Linked DNA regions of Homo sapiens: all the other regions are linked to region 1. The links are contacts of gene promoters, found by promoter capture Hi-C in human tissues and cell types (Jung and others, 2019). All regions are on one chromosome and are shown on one strand. Each heading gives the region's core, a stretch centred on a gene start or on the middle of the fragment in contact. The rest is flanking DNA. Distances are from core to core; before and after follow the strand shown.

Region 1 (4,517 bases), core at 906-3,405:
CCCCCTGTTGGTCTCCAACACCCAGTGCCAGGTCATCCTCCCGACGGGGCCAGATGCTGGGCTGTGATGCCCCTGGCTTCCTGCCCACCTCATATGCCTCTCATGGGTATGTAAATATCTGATGACCTGTCTTATCTGTTCCTTATTTAAATTGTGGGGAGCAGATGCCATGGAAATGGAAACACAAAGGTTAGGCTTTCCTGGGGAACCAGACACACAAGTTTCTTGTTAGCGGTGAACTGGTTTTAAGCAAATTTGCCCTCAACTCCCTGGCAGCACTCCCTGATGGTGCTTCAGCATTCGTGTGGTAAGCTGGACAAGCGGGGGCCCTGTACCCGAATGAGCCCCAAGTACTGCAGGCTGAGGGAAGCCGCTCAGAAGGACACAGCCAATGTGTATCCACCCCCTGGAGACACTGGCTGTGGTCACGTGTTTCTTAGTATTGTGGAATTGTGTAATGTTGGTCCCTTTCACTTTTCACCTAATAAAAATAAGCCAGTGTCAGGACCACTTGCTGAGGCATGTGTACCAATAGGCACAGGCAGCCCAAGTTGTCCCTTGCTCACCCCTGACCCTGACCCCAGGAAGCAGCCTTTGGGGGCTCCCCACTGCCCACAGCGGATGTTTAGCAATGCAACATCTGGAATTTAGTAATAATAAAAAACTATTTTAAAAAGTACTTTTTAAAGGCTGGGTGCGGTGGCTCACGCCTGTAATCCCAGCACTTTGGGAGGCCGAGGCAGTTGGACCACCTGAGATCAGGAGTTCGAGACCAGCCTGACCAACATGATGAAACCCCGTCTCTACTAAAAATACAAAAATTAGCTGGGCGTGGTGGCATGCGCCTGTAATCCCAGTTACTCAGGAGGCTGAGGCAGGAGTATCACTTGAACCCAGGAGGCAGAGGTTGCAGTGAGATGACATTGCGCCACTGCACTCCAGCCTGGGTGACAGAGTGAGACCCTGTCTAAAAAAAAAAAGTACTTTAATCAACTGTAGTCTCAGGAAGCTGTCATTCTTGACCTTCCTACCAGTGAGCTGCTGGGGCTGAACGAGAAACCAATTTTTGAGAGTGTGGGTGTTCAGCCTGGGCACGCCTCTTCATAATTCCATCTGCCCCTGTGTGGATGTTACTGCATGAGTCTGTTAGTCTCAAATTCAGCAGTTTCAGGAGGGAAAACAAGAGTTGATACCAACTGTTGCCAGTGCAGCTGAGATGTCTGTCCATTTCAACCGCTGGTGTCGCCCCACCTCCCTACCCCCATCTGCCTAGGCTTTGAGGGCCATGCTCAGGACTCTTTTTTTTTTTTTTTTAGACAGAGTTTCACTCTTGTTGCCTAGGCTGGAGTGCAATGGCGCAATCTCGGCTCACTGCCTCCCAGGTTCAAGCAATTTTCCTGCCTCAGCCTCCCGAGTAGTTGGGATTACAGGCATCTGCCACCACACCCGGCTAATTTTTTGTATTTAGTAGAGACAGGGTTTCACCCTGTTGGTCAGGCTGGTCTTGAACTCTTGACCTCAGGTGATCCGCCCGCCTCGGCCTCCCAAAGTGCTGGGATTACAGCCATGTGCCACCATGCCCGGCGACATTTTTAATTTTTTATTTTTTATTTTTTTTTTTTTTTAATTAAGACACAGAGTCTCACTGTGTTGCCCAGATTGGCTTCAAACTCCTGGGCTCAAGTGATCCTCACACCTCAGCTTCCGCACACACCACCATGTCTAGGGGTCGCTGAGGACTATTTTTGGGGGGATGAGGTCTTAGTATGTTGCCCAGGTTGGCCTTGAACTCCTGAGCTCAAGTGATCCTCCTGCCTCAGCCTCCCAAGGTGTGGGGTTACAGGCAGGCGCCACTGTGCCTGGCCACTCAGGACTTTTGATTCCTCCAAGCTGAGTCCCAAGGCCGCTGCAGGGCTCAGAGCACCGGCCACCTGGGCATTTCCTTGGAAGCTAATGCTTTCTTCCCACTGACTGGCTCAAACATCTGGGTACAGGGTATGTTTTGGGGTACAGTAGGACAGGGATGAGACAGCAACTGCTCCTCCCTGAAATGCACAAGCCTGGAGCTGAGGGATGCCTGTTCCTGAGTGTCACCTGGAGTGTCCAGGTATCTTTTTATATCAGGAAGTGCAGTCAGTGAGTGCTGTGGGTCCCACCTGTGGGCCACCTGCCTTGATGTCAGGAACACCTCAGCCTTCTAGTCTCGGAGACAAACCAGCCAGTGGCAGGAAAGTAAACAGGATTTCGATTCTGCTCCATCTGTCCTCATCCCGTGACTAGGAATGGCCAAGTCTCAGCCCAGAGGAAACTGTTCATGGTCCTGATCCTGCACCCTGTGGTACCCACGGGCCGCCTCTTGAAGGGCAATCCCATGAGCCGGGGTCCTGGCGTGCTTCTCGATTTAACCCACAGTTCTCACATTTCCCTCTGGCTGAAGTCTGCAGCAGGCCTTATGGTAAAGACCAAACTTCCACAGAGCATTTAAAGCCTGGTGGGGCAGGACATGGTGGCTCACACTTATAATCCCAGTACTTTGGAATCGCTTGAGCCCAAGAGTATGAGACCAACCTGGGCAACACAGTAAGACCCTGTCTCTACAACAACAACAACGGCAAAGATTAAGTCTGGTGGGTATTGATGGAGCCTGGGCAGGCAGCTCGGGGCTTCCTCGAGTTGTTCCCCAGAGCCCTGCACAGCCTCGGGCAGACCCTTTTCTCCCGTTTTACAGATGGGCAGTGGGAAGCTCTAAGAGACAGGGGCCTCCCCAGGGCACACCAGTCACCCACAGCCAGGCTGCATGCCGCCCCACCCCGTACACTGTCCTCACTCATGAAAGGGACCCAGGGCCTGTCCCTCATGGCCGGCACTCATGGGCCCCACACACCCACCTGTGTCATCTGAACAATGACCATTCCTGGCCAGCGCAGGGTCTAGGATGCGCTATGTTCTCAGGGTCTGTCCCGGTGCCTTTCTGTTTTTGTTGATTGAAAAACTGTTTCTGGTGACTGATACATACTAACTGAAATCCCTTTCATCCAGTTCCCCTTATGAGGTTCAGAAGATTCAGTGTCTGGGGGCCTGACTTAGAACACAGGGCTTATCACTCACAGCAGCCTGAAAAGAACGTGGTCCTCCATGTAAACCTGGCATCACCGGATGCACTGCCAGCAGTCCCTGGTGAACCCCAGGAATGGCCTGTCGGAGGTATGCAGGCAGGTCCCTCAAAGCTTGTCTCCTGGGGTCAGCTTCACCACACCACAGTGTCTGGGTGTTCCTGCCCTGCGGTGGTCTCTGAAGGCCAAGGACACCCTCAGCGTATGCATTTCCTCCCAAACCCTCCTTCCCAGAAACAGCTGTCCTCCTCGGTGTCTAGAGGAGCTGTTCTGAGAACAAAATAAACCCTGATTAGTTGCAGAGCTTTGAATTTAGCTGGGAGAACCAGATACGGGCCACAGTCCCTTTGCTGAGACCCTGGGACTAGGTATGTTGCAGAATTCGAAAGCGTTGGATTTAAGATGTGTCACGTTGGCCAGGTACAGTGGCTCACGCCTATAATCCCAGCACTTTGGGAGGCTGAGGCAGACGGATCACCTGAGGTCAGGAGTTCGAGACCAGCCTGGCCAATATGGTGAACCACCCCCCCACCTCCCTCACCCACCCATCTCTACTAAAAATACAAAAACTAGCTGGGCATGGTGGCGGGTGCCTATAATCCTAGCTACACGGGAGGCTGAGGCAGAAGAATCACTTGAACCTGGGATGTGAGGTTTGCAGTGAGCTGAGATCACACCACTGCACCCCAGCTTGGGCGACAAAGTGAGACTCTGCCTCTAAAAAAATATAAAAATAAAAAATAAGGTTTGTCACATTGATGTTCCCAGTGAGGACTGAGGCGTGGCCTGAATTCACACAGTGGTGTTTGGCACCAGAGCAGGGACAGCCTGGCACGTTGGAATGTGTCAGGCTTTACCTCCACATGAGCATGAGTGACAGCTTGTGTGAAAAGCTTCGGATCTCAGATCTCGAGTGGGTAGGCAGCTCCGAGGCGGTGTGCTGAGCCCCAGAGGCCCCTTGCAGACCCACTCGGCCATCCCATCCTGGGCCGTTCTTGAGAAGGGGCCTGCTTTGCCTTCTCCACCCTGTGACTGTGTCTCTGGGGAACAAGAAGTTTCTCAGCCAGGGCTGTTGTGCTGCAGGAACCCTTGCTGTGCTGTAGGAACGCACAGAGCCCCATTCAGAGGAGTAAATGTAAATAATGCATAACATCAGGGAATGCCTTTTTGTCTTCCTGACTAATGATTGGCCTTGCTAGTAGTTGGCAGGCATAAGCCATTCTCATTCTTTCCCTTCCTCGTCAGCTGGTCGGATCTGTTGCAATTACAGAATCGGGTTCTGTAAATTCAGCCAGGAAGCTGGGGTGTCATGGTGCTCATGGGGCTTTCCTGGGTCCTAGCAGTCACCCTGAGGCCTATGAGTCACCTCTCTGGAACTGAGATCCTTTTTCTAATTAGCTGTAC
Region 2 (4,517 bases), core at 1,177-3,676, 310 kb before region 1:
TGAGTCAACATACAGCCCCACTTTACATCCCTCCTAAGAACATGCTGATTTCAGGGTAAGACATTCTCTGATGTAAAATCTGACTTTTTCACCCTCCATTTGCCATTCCCCTCCCACCTCCTTTCTAATCTTGTTTGCTCCTCCCTAGGGAGAAAAGCCCTTTTCTGCCTACATTTTTGCAAGCCATAAAGATTTTAGAGTTAGTTGGTACTTCCTCCTGTTGTAATACTTTTTTGAAATTCATCTTTTACATAAATTAACGTTTTTATTTTACAAAGTCTAAAATGTTCCTCAAAACAATAACAACTTCATCGTCAGTAAGATCCTCCCAAAGGCCGGGCGCGGTGGCTCACGCCTGTAATCCCAGCACTTTGGGAGGCCGAGGCGGGTGGACCATGAGGTCATGAGATCGAGACCATCCTGGCTCACACGGTGAAACCCCGTCTCTATTAAAAAAATTTTTTTTAATTAGCCGGGCGTGGTGGTGGGTGCCTGTAGTCCCAGCTACTCGGGAGGCTCAGGCAGGAGAATGGCGTGAACCCGGGAGGCGGAGCTTGCAGTGAGTCGAGATCGCACCACTGCACTCCAGCCTGGGCGACAGAGCGAGACTCCATCTCAAAAAAAAAAAAAAAAGATCCTCCCAGTTTCCTTTCATCTTAACCTTAACTGCATCTGCTTGTGGGGCCCCAGCTTTCTGGGGCTCTGTACCTTCTCTCAGAATAACGCCTCCTTCCATGGCTCCGGTGAATAGGCTGGGACATCTGCAGGGGAGGCTCCCCAGAAAAAGCTAAATAGGACTTTATAAACTCCTGTTGGCTGGGCCCTGTGGCTCATGCCTGTAATCCCAGCACTTCAGGAGGCCAAGGCAGGCAGATCACCAGAGGCCGGGAGCTCGAGACCAGCCTGACCAACATGGAGAAAACCCGTCTCTACTAAAAACACAAAATCAGCCAAGCATGATGGTGCATGCCTGTAATCCCAGCTACTTGAGAGGCTGAGGCAGGAGAATCGCTTGAACCCAGGAGGTGGAGATTTCAGTGAGCCATGATTGCGCCACTGTACTCCACCTGGGCAACAAGAGCAAAACGCAAAACTCTGTCCAAAAAAAAAACCTTCTGTTTTAGGCTTAATATTAGCCTTAGCTTGGAGTCACTAGGCTCAAGCTTTGTCATGTCAGAGTTATTCACTTGGTTTTTGAAACTCAGTGTTTGAAAAATCCGTGAAATTACTCAAACACAGTATTTACATAAGGGAAGGAAATTTTAAGATGTCTATTTTTTTTTTAAGACGGAGTCTCACTTTGTCACCAAGGCTGGAGTACAATGGCAAGCTCTCGGCTCACTGCACCTCGCCTCCCAGGTTCAAGCAATTCTCGTGCGTCAGCCTCCCAAGTAGCTGGGATTACAGACGCCTGCCACCAATCCCGGCTAATTTTTGTATTTTTAGTAGAGACGGGGTTTCACTATGTTGGCCAGGCTGGCCTAGAACTCCTGACCTTGTGATCCACCCGCCACGGCCTCACAAAGTGCTGGGATTACAGGCATCAGCCACCGCGCTGGGCCAGGAAGGGGATTTAACCCTAACGCAGTTCCGGTTTTTGTGTCCTTCCCATATTGGCTGAGGTCCCACCGCACAATCTAAGCTGATCCTGGTTGGGCTAGACACAAACTTTTTCCATATAGGGTAAACGCGCGATGTTTTGAGAAAAGGAGAATGGGGAAAAAGAAGGGGTAGGGTTGATTTACAATTTTTACAACTTATGACCAGGAAGTTGAGTCTCTGAAGAGGAACTTAGCTGCCCTAACAACTCCTCAAGTGATCCGCCCGCCTCGGCCTCCCAAACTGCTGCGATTACAGGAGTGAGCCACCTTGCCCAGCCCCATAAATTTTTAATAGGAGAAAAGAGAAACTGTGAACCCAACCCACTAAAGCTCTTCCCATTCGTGAACCCGCACTCCGAGTCAGGATTCTCCCCTGACGACTCTCCCGTGGTCTCTGCACAATCTGGGAGAGAAGCGGCTCTGCGGGTGCGCAGCTGCCCAGCGAGGGCTCCAAGCCAGGGCACAGTCACCGCACAGTGAAGAGACAGGACGCCTGGGGGCTGCGCTATAAGCGCAGCCGCCATCTTATGGCTGAAGGGAACCGAGGCCGAGCTGGGCAAGAACTCCGGCGCAGATTGTGGAGCTGACTAAGGGGATACCTGAGTCCCGCCACCGTCACTTTCCACCGGTTCCAACCAGCCCCTCCCCGTCGCTTGGGATGTCGGACCGGCACTCTCACCATTTCTAGGCTTCCAGGGGTCCTGGTGTCTTAGCTGTGGATCTCCCAATACCTGCAGGTCACAGGGCCACAGAGGCTGGGCCTGTAGGAGCACAGGACACAGAGTAGTGAAGAGGAGACCTGGAGCTCCGGCTGCACCGAGAGACAAAGGACCCGCCAAACCAGAAGCCGCCCTGTTCGGTCCGGCTGCTTGCCTGATTGGACGTTTCCAGCCCAGCGTCCCTGATTGGATAATTCTTAAGGTCCCGCCCCCTCAGGACCTGAGTGACAGAAGATGTGATCACATGCTGGGCTGAGTGAAGAAGAGTAACAGCCTAAGCTGCAGCCTTTTCAGCCAGGGCTTCCTCTCTGAGCTGAGCCACGTCCACCCCAGAGCATGGGAACATTCTCTTTTTTACTCTCTCTTTTTGAATGTATTGAAAAGGTGAACAGAAGTATTTCGTTGTCATATTAATAATACCGTTGGAAGTAAAGTGTTTGGTGTCGCAAAGTGAAACCAGTACTCAGGCAAAAGTTTTTTTAGTAAGGCAATTTACTTCTGCAAAAGGTTTTTGTTTGCATTAATCACGATCGCAAGAGCACCCTGAACAAAGGAGGGAAGGGGTTTTTATTTTTAACGTAAAGTCTCTTCCTCTGTGTTACTCCCCCATGGGCTAGGGTCGGACCCCACAATCTAAACTGACCCGATTGGCTATTTGTAAATATTTTTCCAAATAAGGAAGGGAAGGGGCATGTATAAGTCACAGTGGTGGGACGTGTGGTTTTGAAGGGTGGGAAGGCTGCAGAGTGAGTAATCAAGGGAACAGATGTGAATTATTGATTAGAGCTGTTGGGAAGGAAGGTTGTTACAGTAACTAGGGGCAAGGAGGCATGGAGAACAAGCAAGTTGAGTTTGAGAACAAAGAACAAGAAAGTTAAGACTAAACCTTTGAAGAGGAATTTTATTGTATTTTACAATTTCCCCCTTTTAATTTTTATAATTAAAAAAAAACCTTTTTTTTTGAGATGGAGTTTTTGCTCTTGCTGCCTAGGCTGGAGTGCAATGGCACGATTTTGGCTCACTACAACATTTGCCTCCCAGGTTCAAGCAATTCTCCTGCCTCAGCCTCCCGAGTAGCTGGGAGTACAGGCATGTGCCACCACGACCAGCTAATTTTGTGTCTTTAGTATAGATGGGGCTTCTTCATATTGGTCAGGCTGGTCTCTAACTTCTGACCTCGGGTGATCCGCCCGCATCAGCCTCTCAAAGTGCTGGGATTACAGGCGTGAGCCACTGCGACCACACGCTTTTTAAAACTTTTTAAACATACCTTTACTTTGTTGTTTGACTTGATCTTTTAAAAGGAAAAGTTTATCTGAATAAGGTGGAGGAGAACTAAGGGAGGTTTTCGTAAGTGTCGTTTTTATAAGTCTTTGTACTAGCCCACAGATGCATGGTATGACACAACACCCAACAAGAATTAGTACACCTATTACAACTATAAGAGAAGTAAGAATTGAGGCTATGACTTTTTTTCGTTTACTGAACCACCTCTCTAGCCATTCTGAAAACGTGTTATTGACCCCAGAATTTTTAGCTAATTCATTGGATAAAGTGGTAAGTTCGTGTAAGGCCCTTCTTATGTTCCTATTGGGGGCAGTATTGTTTGGGATGAAGGTACAACATTTGAGTTTTAATCATAACACAAACTCCACCTTTTTCAGCTAATATTATGTCCAGGGCCATTTTGTTTTTCTAAGTTATCTGGCTAGTAGGCCTTAATTGGTTGGCTATTTCTTTGACAGCATTTCTGGTGTAATTAATAAACTAATATTGATTATAATAGATGTGATTTATCTATCTAATCTACATTTTTATTAATAGTTACCCGTGGAAATATTGATTTAAATCCTGCAGCTATTTGATCTTGGGCTTTGAATTCATCAGGTACCACCCGTGGGACTCCAGTTGTGTCTAAATAAACTTGAAAGTCAAAAGACACATAAGGGGCTTCTCTTATTTTACAGTGTTGTGGTTTTTCTTTTTCTAGTCGATGAAATGCCAGAGTGAAAGGGATAGCCAACTGGACAACAGTGCAAGTGCCGTTCCAGTTACTTGGCAGAGTGTCCAGTAAGGGTCCACCACAATACCACCATATATTTGCTCAAAGATGAACAAGGGAAGACTGACTGGTAAGATCTTGGAAAGGCTTAAGCTCACTGTATCCCATTAAGTCTCCAAGAAATGCCAAGTTTTC
Region 3 (4,517 bases), core at 617-3,116, 270 kb before region 1:
TTCATTGCAGCACTATTCACAATAGCAAAGACATGGACAGGCCCTATCAGTGGTAGACTGGATAAAGAAAACACGGTATGGTCAGATGCGGTGGCTCATGCCTGTAATCCCAGCACTCTGGGAGGCTGAGGCAGGTGGATTGCCTGAGCTTAGAAGTTTAAGACCAACCTGGGCAACATTGCAAAATCCTGTCTCCACAGAAAATACAAAGAGAAAAATTGGCCAGGCGTGGTAACACCAGCGTGTAGATCAAGCTACGTGAAAGGATGAGGTAGGAGAGAATTGCTTGAGCCAGGGAGGTTGAGGCTAAATAAGGCTGCATCACTCCACAGCACTCTAGCCTGGGCAATAAGTGACACTCTGTCTCCAAAAATAAAATAAAATAAAAGATTTAGTAAAAACAAAATATGGTACATAAATATCATGGAATACTCTCTGGCCATTTAAAAATAAATGATCATGTCCTTTGCAATAACATCAATAAAGCTGTAGACCATTATTTCAGAAAACTAATGCAGAAACAGAAAACCAGACATTCGCCATCACACCCAGCTAATTTTTGTACTTTTAGTAGAGATGGGGTTTCCCCATTTTGGCCAGGCTGGTCTTCAACTCCTGACCTCAAGTGATCCATCCACCTCGACCTCCTGAAGTGTTGTTATTACAGGCGTGAGCCACCGCGCCCGGCCCCATAAATTTTTAATAGGAGAAAAGGGAAACTGTGAACCCTGACAGATATAATAGATTCCTCTTCAAGGGCCTAACTTTCTTGTTCCTTGTTCTTAGGACCAACTTTTTTGTACCTCTTTGTACCTAGACACCCGCTCCGTAAACAACCCAAACCGCCTGTTCCAATCTGCGACCCGAACCCCTTCCTTATTTGGAAAGTAGCCAATCGGGTCAGCCTAGATTGTGAGGTCAGACCCCGGCCAATGGGGGAAGGACACAGAGGCAATAACGGCGTTTAGGGTTAAAAACCCCTTTCAAACTGGGAGGCCGAGGCGGGCGGATCAACTGAGTTCGGGAGTTCAAAACCAGCCTGACCAACATGGTGAAACGGCATGTCTACTAAAAATACAAAATCAGCCGGGTGTGGTGACGCATGCCTGTAACCCCAGCTACTCGGGAGGCTGAGGCAGGAGAATCACTTGAACCCGGGAGACGGAGGTTGCAGTGAGCCGAGATCGCGCCATTGTACTTTAGCCTGGGCCACAAGAGCAAAACTCCGCCTCAAAAAAAAAAAAAACCTTCCTTCCTTTCTTCTGTGTGCTCTTGCGATCAGGTCGGACGCGAGCAGCACTCTTCTTCAGAAGTAAATATGCCTTCCTGTGAAATTTTCTAAGTGCTGGGTAGTTTTTTGTTTTGTGTTGTTTTGCGGCACCAAGCGCTTGTTTCTAACAACCTCACGGACCAAAGCTCTTCCCATTCATGAACCCGCAGGGAACCGAGTCAGGATTCTCCCCTGACGACCCTCCCGTGGTCCTTGCATGATCTGGGAGAGACGCGGTGCTGCGGGTGCAGAGCTGCTGAAAGAGGGCTCCAGGCCAGGGCACAATCACTGTGCCGGGCCCCGGATGTCACCGCAGCCGCCATCTTATGGCTGAAGGGGACTGAGGCCGAGCTGGGCAGGGAGAACTCCGGCGGCAGATTGTGGAGCTGACTGTGAGGAAGCAGAGTCCCGCCAGAGCCACTTCCCACCGTTCCAAACAGCCTCTCCCCTCTCTCGGGACGTTGGACCCGGCACTCACCATTTCTAGGCTTCCAGGGGTCCCGGGGTTTAGCTGTGGCTCTCCCAATACTTGCAGGTCACACGGCCACAGAGGACGGGCCTCTATAAGCACAGGACACAGAACACTGAGGATAAACCTGGAGCTCCCGCTGCAGCGAGAAACAAAGGCCCCCAGAAACCATGTGGTTCGCTCCAGCTGCGTGCCTGATTGGACGGTTTCCGGCCCAGCGTCCCTCATTGGATAATGCCTAAGGCCCCGCCTCCCCAGCCGCTGAGTGACAGATGTGATCAGATACTGGGCTGAGTGAAGAAAGAGTGACAGCCTAGGCTGCAGCCTTTTCTTTCTTTCTTTCTTTCTTTCTTTCTTTCTTTCTTTCTTTCTTTCTTTCTTTCTTTCTTTCTTTCTTTCTTTCTTTCTTTCTTTCTTTCTTTCTTTCTTTCTTTCTTTCCTTTCTTTCTTTCTTTCTTTTTCTTTCTTTCTTTCTTTCTTTCTTTTCTTTCTTTTTTCCCCCCACCGAGACGGAGTTTCCCTCTTGTTGCCCAGGCTAGAGTGCAATGGCACGATGTTGGCTCACCGCAACCTGCACCTCCCGGGTTCAAGCGATTCTCCTACCTCAGCCTCCCATGTAGCTGGGATTACAGGCATGCCTCACCACGCCCGTCTAATTTTTTGTACTTTTAGTAGAGACAGGGTTTCTCCGTGTTGGTCAGGCTGGTCTCGAGCTCCCGATCTCAGGTGATCCGCCCGCCTCGGCCTCCCAAAGTGCTGGGATTACAAGCGTGAGCCACCGCGCCTAGCCTAGCTGGAGCCTTTTCAAACGGCTTCCTCCCTGAGCTGAGCATCCCATCCCAGAGCATGGGAAAATTCTATCTCATATTCTCTCTCTTTTTGAATGTATTCAAAAGGTGAACAGAAGTACTTTGCTGTCATATTAATAATACATGAAATGTTTGTTCAAGAGAAAGTCAACTTTTACTTTGGTAATAGTGTATTATCAATACTAAAGCTAATTTTAATAAGACCTTGTAAAGCCAGGTGCGGTGGCTCAGGCCTGTAATCCCAGTACTTTGGGAGGCTGAGGAGGGCAGATCACTGGGTCAGGAAATCGAGACCATCCTGGCTAACACGGTGAAACTCTGTCTCTACTAAAAATACAAAAAATTACCCGGGCGTGGTGGCATGCACCTGTGGTCCCAGCTACTCAGGAGGCTGAGGCAGGAGAATGGCTTGAACCCAGGAGGCAGAGGTTGCGGTGAGCCAAGATCGCACCACTGCACTCAAGCCTGGGTGACAAAGTGAGACTGCGTCTCCAAAAATGAATAAATACATAAATAAAACCTTGTAAATAAACAAAATTTGTCATTTTTGACCTCTCGAGATTTACATATATAATTTGTAATCTCCTGTAATTTTTTAACTATATTTTATTTATATCTACATTCTTTTTATTTTTTCAGTTTGAAACAACCTTTAAGTAATTTCAAACTGTTATAGGAGATAGAAAGAAATCATTTAGGGACAGGTGCGTTGGCTCACGCCTGTAATCCCAGCACTTTGGGAAGCCAAGGTGAGTGGAATACTTGAGGTCAGGAGTTAAAGACCAGCCTGGCCAACACAGTGAAACCCCATCTCTACTAAAAATACAAAAAATTAGGCGGGCGCGGTGGCGGGCGCGGTGGCGGGCGCCTGTAGTCCCAGCTACTCGGGAGGCTGAGGCAGGAGAATGGCGTGAACCCGGGAGGTGGAGCTTGCAGTGAGCCGAGATTGCGCCACTGCAGTCCAGCCTGGGCGATAGAGCGAGGCTCCGTCTCAAAAAAAAAAAAAAAAAAAAAAAATTAGCCTGGCGTGCTGGTGCACATCTGTAGTCCCAGCTACCACGGAGGCTGAGGCAGGAGAATCGCTTGAACCCAGGAGGCGGAGGTTGTGTAAGGCCCAAGGGGTTCACCTGGCCCTTTGCCTAGACAGAGATGATTCATCAAGACAGGGGAATTTGTGGAGGAAAAGTTAAATATTAAATTTGAACTCAATTAAACGTGGACACAAACAATTGTCACGAAGTCCTGGAACAGGTTGTGTGAGCCTTCTGAGTTGTTCATTCAGAGCTGTTTCAGTGATATCTCTATTTCAATCTATTTCTATACATTAGTTATTGAAAAACAATAGACAATCACAAAAGCAAGTTGACCTTTTTGTGTTCCTTGTGCCCAGTTGCGGAAGGCCCTCGTGACTGGACCTCCTGCCAAACAACTCGTTACAAAAAACTGAGGGTACCAGACTGCGCCAAAGCTTCATGAGACCTGTCCTCATCTGTGCAGAAATGAGTGGCCGACTCTGGAACCCAGGCTGTTGCTTACCACCTTGGTGGTGAAACCTCCATACTCTAGTGAGTGTAAATATATATATATATATATATATATATATCTTTTCCTTTCTCCTCTTCCCATTGCAATTTGCTTATTATATCAATGTGGTTCTTATATCAATATGCTTGTTATATTGATCTGTTTATTATATCATTTGCTTATTATATCTGCATTGCCACTTACGTGGAATAAACTTGTTTACCATTAAAGGTGTTGTGTGTGTGTCTTTCCTTCTCCCCTCATGTGTTTCCCACCCGAATATTTTTGGTGTCACAAACAGGATTCGAAAACCAAAGTGTGCCACTTTTTGGCCACAAGGACGGGGCTAGAGGCTCGTGGACTTCCCATATCCAGAGATGGGAAATCCCCCACTTCTCCCCCTTGGCAGTTGAATGGTCCAGGGGAACTGGCCTTTGTGAGAATT

Evidence for each region. Contacts are between HindIII fragments. The study calls those that stand out against the background at their distance.
Region 2: a contact is called between the fragment with the promoter of ZNF93 here and a fragment that was not itself captured in region 1, in 2 of the 25 tissues and cell types used here (aorta and spleen).
Region 3: a contact is called between the fragment with the promoter of ZNF253 here and a fragment that was not itself captured in region 1, in 2 of the 25 tissues and cell types used here (bladder and mesendoderm cells).

The regions. Positions count from the first base shown.
Region 1 is chr19:19,591,193-19,595,709 of GRCh38, reverse strand. The region is part of intron 2 of PBX4 (PBX homeobox 4); the gene reads left to right. Among named protein-coding and RNA genes, the nearest start is that of PBX4, 25 kb to the left of the region's middle. RefSeq lists enhancers at 2,470-3,094, 4,208-4,257, 4,418-4,517. The HindIII fragment of the contact is 8,394 bases long and covers 1-4,517 here.
Region 2 is chr19:19,898,855-19,903,371 of GRCh38, reverse strand. It overlaps ZNF93 (zinc finger protein 93), which reads right to left and starts at 2,426. Exons shown (of 4, transcript NM_031218.4): 1 at 2,281-2,426. The coding sequence starts at 2,283. RefSeq lists enhancers at 675-1,224, 1,773-2,322, 1,857-2,456. The HindIII fragment of the contact is 8,115 bases long and covers 1-4,517 here.
Region 3 is chr19:19,863,231-19,867,747 of GRCh38, reverse strand. It overlaps ZNF253 (zinc finger protein 253), which reads right to left and starts at 1,866. Exons shown (of 4, transcript NM_021047.3): 1 at 1,749-1,866. The coding sequence starts at 1,751. It overlaps LOC124904664 (a long non-coding RNA gene), which reads left to right. Exons shown (of 4, transcript XR_007067169.1): 1 at 1-1,312; 2 at 3,939-4,113. RefSeq lists an enhancer at 1,406-1,835. The HindIII fragment of the contact is 7,733 bases long and covers 1-4,517 here.